Regions from separate parts of the Homo sapiens genome. Here region 1 is linked to region 2. The links are contacts of gene promoters, found by promoter capture Hi-C in blood cells and fetal thymus (Javierre and others, 2016). All regions are on one chromosome and are shown on one strand. Each heading gives the region's core, a stretch centred on a gene start or on the middle of the fragment in contact. The rest is flanking DNA. Distances are from core to core; before and after follow the strand shown. Region 1 has its middle 3.3 kb from the start of EIF1. Region 2 holds the start of RPL23A (ribosomal protein L23a).

Region 1 (3,502 bases), core at 371-2,870, about 13 Mb after region 2:
GGAGGGAGATTCTGCTGCTTCCGTGCCACGTTGGTGGCCTTGGAGAATCTTATTGAGGTCGAGGGTCCCAAGGTGTCCTACACAGCCATGCCCTTGTCACATCCCAAGGAGATCACCATGGAGAGGTGCCCACCTCTGTCCCATCCTCATTCAGAGGGGCTCACTCCTGTCCCCTGCTGCTCTCGGAGGCTCTCTCTCTCCCTTCCCCTCTGGGAAACTGGTATAATCTATATAGTGGTTTCATAACTTTACATTTTTATCCGGCTGTACATAGTCTCCTCTTTAAATCCCCTCAACAGCCTATGAGAAGGGCATTATTGTCTCTGTCGTACAGAGGAGAAAATGCAGGCTGGGAGGGGCTAAGTCGCCCAGGCAACAAGATGGAGATGATATTCAGATACAGACACTCCAGAGCCTGTGCTTTGTACCCTGCCCTTGGCTGCCCAGGTGACAGCATCTCAAAGCCAGGAGCACACTAATAAAGAAGCCAGCATTAACAGCAGGCATGCATGCCACTTTCAAACTAATTACTCCTGCCTCCATGATTACTCCTCAGGCTCCTGGGGCTGGGGTAACCTCCCACACTGGAAGGTAGACTTCGGAAGACCCTTCTGGAAATGCTCCCAACTTGGGAAAACAGCGCTTCAGACTTCAGACCCAGGAAGAGATCACCCAGTGCTCCTTTTATGGGGCATACAACTGAAGCCAAGAGGTAAACCAGGTCACCCACAAAGCTGGTGGCAAGTCAAGAACTGAGTCTCAGGCCTGGTGCGGTGGCTCATGCTTGTAATCCCAGCACTTTGGGAGGCCGAGGTAAAGGATTACTTGAGCCTAGCAGTTCAAGACCAGCCTGGGCAACATAGTGAGACCTCATCTCTACCAAAAATTTAAAAAATTAGCTGGCTATGGTAGCACATGCCTGTAGTCCCAGCTACTCAGGAGGCTGAAACGGATCACTTGAGCCTAGGAGTTCAAGTCTGCAATAAGCTATAATGGCACCATTGCACTCCAGCCTAAGTGACAAAGCCAGACCCTGTCTCAAAAAAAAAAAAAAAAAAAGAACTGAGTCTTGGCCGGGTGTTGTGGCTCACACCTGTAATCCCAGCACTTTGGGAGGCCAAGGCGGGCGGATCATTTGAGGTCAGGAGTTCAAGACCAGCCTGGGCAATGTTGTAAAACCCCTTCTCTACCCAAAATACAAAAATTAGCTGGGCATGGTGGCACCTGCCCGTAATCTCAGTTACTTGGGAGGCTGAGGCAGAAGCATAGCTTGAACTCAGGAGGTGAAAGCTGTGGTGAGCCAAGATCGCACCACTTCACTACAGCCTGGACGACAAAGCGAGATTCTGTCTCAAAAAATATTTTAGTGTGACAAAATATTGCATGCACACTGGGAAGGACAGCTCCAATTCATTCATTCAAACTCTCTCCCAAAACCCTTTCCAGCAGAACAATGTCCGTCAGGGCAAAGTGTTGTGGGATGTCAGGGACTCCCAACAGAGGGACCCGCTGAAGCCATGGCAGAAGAACATAAATTGTGAAGATTTAATGGATATTTATTAGTTCCCCAAATTAATACTTTTATAATTTCTTACGCCTGTCTTTACTGCAATCTCTGAACATAAATTGTGAAGATTTCATGGACACTTATCACTTCCCCAATCAATACCCTTGGGATTTCCTATGCCTGTCTTTACTTTAATCTCTTAATCCTGTCATCATAAGCTGAGGAGGATGTATGTAGCCTCAGGACCGTGATGATTGCATTAACTGCACAAATTGTTTGTAGAGCTTGTGTGTTTGAACAATATGAAATCTGGGCACCTTGAAAAAAGAACAGGATAACAGCAATGTTCAGGGAACAAAGGAGATAACTTTAAACTCTGACTGCCCGTGAGCCGGGCAGAACAGAGCCATATTTCTCTTCTTTCAAAAGCAAATGGGAGAAATATCGCTGAATTCTTTTTCTCAGCAAGGAACATCCCTGAGAAAGAGGATGCGTCCCTGAGGGAGGCCTCTGAAATGGCCACTTTGGGGACAGCTGTCTTTTACGGTCATCGCTGAGGGATGAAATAAGCCCCGGTCTCCTGTAGCGCTCCCAGGCTTATTAGGACGAGGAAATTCCCGCCTAATAAATTTTGGTCAGACCGGTTGTCTGTTCTCAAACCCTGTCTCCTGATAAGATATCATCAATGACAATGTGTGTCTGAAACTTCATTAGCAATTTTAATTTCGCCCCGGTCCTGTGGTCCTGTGGTCTTGCCCTGCCTCCATTTGCCTTGTGATATCTTATTACCTTGTGAAGCACATGATCTCTGTGACCCACACCCTATTCGTACACTCCCTCCCCTTTTGAAAATCACTAATAAAAACTCGCTGGTTTTGCGGCTTGGGGGACATCATGGAACCTGCCGACATGTGATGTCTCCCCCGGACACCCAGCTTTAAAATTTCTCTCTTTTGTACTCTGTCCCTTTATTTCTCGGACCAGCCAACACTTAAGGAAAATAGAGAAGAACCTACGTGAAATGTCGGGGGTGAATTTTGCCTGATAGTAAAGGTTCCCAAGTTGGCTGACTGGGGCCTTAGCTTCTCAAAAGGGGAAGACCATGAGACTGGGATGCCCATGACCTAGCCATGGTTCCTCCTTCCTGATGTCAAGGAAACCAAACTATTAATCAAGTTTATTTAGTAAATATAGAATCAAAACAAAGTATCAGGCCAGGCACACTGGCTCCTGCCTGTAATCCCAGCACTTTAGGAGGCCAAGGCAGGGGGACTGCTTTAAGCAGTTGAGGCTGCAGTAAGCCATGATCATGCCACTGCATTCCAGCCAGTCTGGGTGACAGAGTGAGACCTTGTCTATATATATATATATATACACATACATATATATATACATATATACACAAATACACACACACACATATATACACACACTCATATACATATATATATATATACACACACATACACATATATATATCAGGTACACCTAGCATTTCCTCCCTCAGAGTTTTTCTGAGTTTTCTGGTGGGCACATGCCCTGCCCCACAGTGGACTCCTTCCTACCCTCTGTCAGCCAGAATGCTGCCTCCCCAGAGGCCTTCTCTGACCACCCCATCTGAAGGAGCCTGGCCCTTTCACATCACCCTGTTTACCTCCTTTTTGGCACCTCTCACAATCTGTCATTATCCTTTTTTTTTTTTTTTTGAGACATAGTCTTGCTCTGTCGCCCAGGCTGGAGTGCAATGGCGCCATCTTGGCTCACTGCAGTCTCCTCTTCCCGGGTTCAAATAATTATTGTGCCTCGGCCTCCCGAGTAGCTGGGACTACAGGCACACGCCACCACGCCCAGCTAATTTTTGTATTTTTAGTAGAGACAGGGTTTCACCATATTGGCCAGGCTGGTCTCGAACTCCTGACCTCGGGTGATCCGCCCACCTCAGCCTCCCAAAGTGCTGGGATTACAGGCATAAGCCACAGCGCCCAGCCTCATTAT
Region 2 (3,240 bases), core at 8-2,507:
ACACCTTAGGAGAAGCGAACCTGAGTGTTAAGAAACCTTTCTCTGTGTCTGGAGCTGAATTTGAGGATGTAAAGATGACCAGGACACGGAAGGGAAGACTAGTTTAGGGCAGGGGATTGTGAGTGAAGTTACTAACCGGAAAAACTAGCGAATCTTGGAGAAATGTGTGGAATTTTCATAGAACTTCAAATGCATTATCAGGAAACGCAGTAAAACTTGACAGTATCAGTGTCGCAGGTAAAGAGGGGCAGGTGTGGCCGCCTTGTACTTCCTCTGACACTTCCCCCTCGTGACTCGATTATTTATTTATTTATTTATTTATTTATTTTGAGACAGGGTCTCACTCTGCCACCCAGGCTGGAATGGCTCATTGCAGCCTCGACCTCCAGGGCTGAAGCGATCCTCCCACCTCAGCCTCCCAAGGAACTGGGACTACAGGCACGCACCACCACGCCCGGCTAATTTTTGTATTCTTTTGTAGAGACAGGGTTTCGCCGTGTTGCCCAGGGTGGTCTCGAACTCCTGGGCTCGAAGCAATTCGTCCACCTCGGCCTCACAAAGTGCTGGGATTACAGGCGTGAGTCACCGCGCCCGGCCCTGACTTGATTTTTTTCTGCCACCAAATCACTGTGTTATTGATAAACCACATTCCTCTCTGGACCTCAGTTCGACCGAGCAAATCCTGCTCCAGCACTCTAGAACTTAGCTGTATCTAACTCCCGAGTCAATCCAAATGTGTTCTTTCCTCTTGGCAGCGTTCCTGCCTCCTGGCATGGCAATCCTCTTCCCTGAGACTGGCAGTTGCTCAAGATAGGAAGCTCCCGGGACCAGACCCGAGCGCCAGCCGGCTACGCCGTCCGCTGGCCTGAGCAAATAAACGCGTGTCTTCAAAAAACTACAATCCCCATGGTGGCACGCGCCTGTAGTCCCAGCTACTCTGGTGGCTGAGGCAGGAGAATGGCGTAAACCCGGGAGGCGGAGCTTACAGTGAGCCGAGATCGCGCCACTGCACTCCAGCCTGGGCGACAGAGCGCTCAAAAAAAAAACAAAAAACAAAAAACAAAAAACTACAACCCCCATGAAGCTTTAGTGCCTTTGAGGGGAGGAGTGGCGCATGTTTGTTCACGCACGAAAAAGAAATTAAACCTAACTACCGTTCCCAGAGGGCGCCGCTCTGCAAATTACCCAATCAGCTCTAAGTACAAAGCATCGCGAGTCTTTAGTGCTCTTTGGCGCTATAAGCCCGTGGGAACGAGCATTGGAGACCCTTTTCACAAGATGGCGCCGAAAGCGAAGAAGGAAGGTGTGTGTTGGTGATGGGGCCGCAGCTGGTTTACCGGGGATTGCCGCGCCGCAGAGCGAACGAATTGGGAACACGGCTGCTGGGCTAAGCCCTGAGGGCTCTGCTCCGGGGCTGCTCCCTGCGTTTCGGACACGCTGCAGTATACGTGGGCCGCGTGGGCCCAGCCTCGTGGGCTGAGTTCCGGTAGAGGGAGTTGGGGGGGGGCAACGCGGCAGGCATCATCCGCCAGGGAGGGCCAGACATTCGGTTCTGGGAAGCTACATGCATCCACTGGTTGGAGCTCCATGTCCCCGGGCCTGTAAGGAATTAGTGCCCTCAGCTTTAACCATTTTCCTTCTGGTTCATGTTCAACCGGGCTACATTACCCGCCCCTCTCTCCGCAGCGTGGTTTTGCGATGGGGTATGTGTAAAATTCGTAGGACATTTTCTGGAAAGTATCAAGCGTTCATTCAGTGCTACTTTGTTTCATAGTCGTATCCCTGGAGTTACTTAGAGTTGGTCGCTTTCGCCTCTGGTATCGTGCATATGATGGAAAAGTTTTAATCTCCTGACACTTGTGATGTCTTCAAAGGAACCACTGATGCACCTGTGGCCAGGGTGGCCCACTGCAGTTCTTGGGGCCGGAAGTGACCGATTTCTAAATCCCGCACCCACGTTTTCTTTCCTTTTCTCCCAGCTCCTGCCCCTCCTAAAGCTGAAGCCAAAGCGAAGGCTTTAAAGGCCAAGAAGGCAGTGTTGAAAGGTGTCCACAGCCACAAAAAGAAGAAGATCCGCACGTCACCCACCTTCCGGCGGCCGAAGACACTGCGACTCCGGAGACAGCCCAAATATCCTCGGAAGAGCGCTCCCAGGAGAAACAAGTCAGTACTGCCCCCTGTACCCATGAAAAGATTTGGGTATTCTCCATTGGTAATTTGGAAATTCACTCACTCTGCGTGATGGTTTCTCAAACGCAAATTGTGTCCAGTGTGCTTCTCTAATTGGAAGTATGAGGAGATTGTTTCTGCTGCATTTACAAAACTGGCAGGATCAGCCCAGAGGCCGGGCGCGGTGGCTCACGTCTGTAATCCCAGCACTTTGGGAGGCCGAGGGGGGGCGGATCACTTGAGGTCAGGGGTTCGAGACCAGCCTGAGTGACATGGAGAAACCCCGCGTCTATTAAAAATAGAAAATTCGCCGGGCATGGTGGCGCATGTCTGTAATCCCAGCTACTCGCGGGAGGCTGAGGCAGGAGAATCGCTTGAACCCGGGAGGTGGAGGTTGCGGTGAGCGGAGATCGTACCATTGCATTCCAGCCTGGGCAATAAGAGTGAAACTCTGTCTCAAAAAAAAAAAAACCCTGAGTCTCTCAAAATTTGTTAGGTTAATTATTGCTTCACATGTGGTCACGGTTTGAAAACTTATTTTGGGGGGAGTATAAAGTAGAATACAGAGATTCCTTGCTCATAGCTCCTACTGCTATCGGGAACAATCCTTGAGGGTGAGAACGTGGATTGATTCTTGATTGATAGTGGGGATTCCATTATCTGTATTTGGCAGTTATGGCCTGCTGCGGTGTATAGAAGCTTCTTTCCATTCATTTTCCCGAATTTTCATACTGCTCAAGGAACAGTTGGGGGGGAATGGGCAGAAGGTTGGGCACTTGAGTATTTGAGCTATCGGTAATAACTGACTTTTTAGGGAGCACAGATTTGAGTAGAGCCATGGTAGTAGTTAGTACCAATGGGTTTTTGCTGCTTCTACTCTTTCTTAACAGAAAAAGTGGATTGTGTTCATATAGGAAAGCAGTTCACAGACTGTCTTCCTGCCCCTCCCGCCACCAAGCTGGACCTAGAATCAAGTGTGACTTTAAATGGGGAAAGCTGTGTTACAGTTGTGCTTAAGCCACTGCTGTGGCTTAACCTCACCTATGCATAAGAATTTGCTCGTGGCTGGCC

The links. Contacts are between HindIII fragments. The CHiCAGO score rates a contact against its expected background, and 5 or more counts as called.
Region 1: a contact is called between a fragment that was not itself captured here and the fragment with the promoter of RPL23A in region 2, in 1 of 17 cell types (fetal thymus). The highest score is 7.3, in fetal thymus.

What each region holds. Positions count from the first base shown.
Region 1 is chr17:41,683,862-41,687,363 of GRCh38, forward strand. No RefSeq gene overlaps it. Among named protein-coding and RNA genes, the nearest start is that of EIF1, 3.3 kb to the right of the region's middle. The HindIII fragment of the contact is 6,365 bases long and covers 1-3,502 here.
Region 2 is chr17:28,718,728-28,721,967 of GRCh38, forward strand. It overlaps RPL23A (ribosomal protein L23a), which reads left to right and starts at 1,258. Exons shown (of 5, transcript NM_000984.6): 1 at 1,258-1,303; 2 at 1,980-2,163. The coding sequence starts at 1,279. It overlaps SNORD42B (small nucleolar RNA, C/D box 42B), which reads left to right and starts at 1,823; the gene lies at 1,823-1,889. RefSeq lists enhancers at 1-514, 515-1,116, 773-822, 1,253-1,472, 1,813-1,972. The HindIII fragment of the contact is 1,784 bases long and covers 1,083-2,866 here.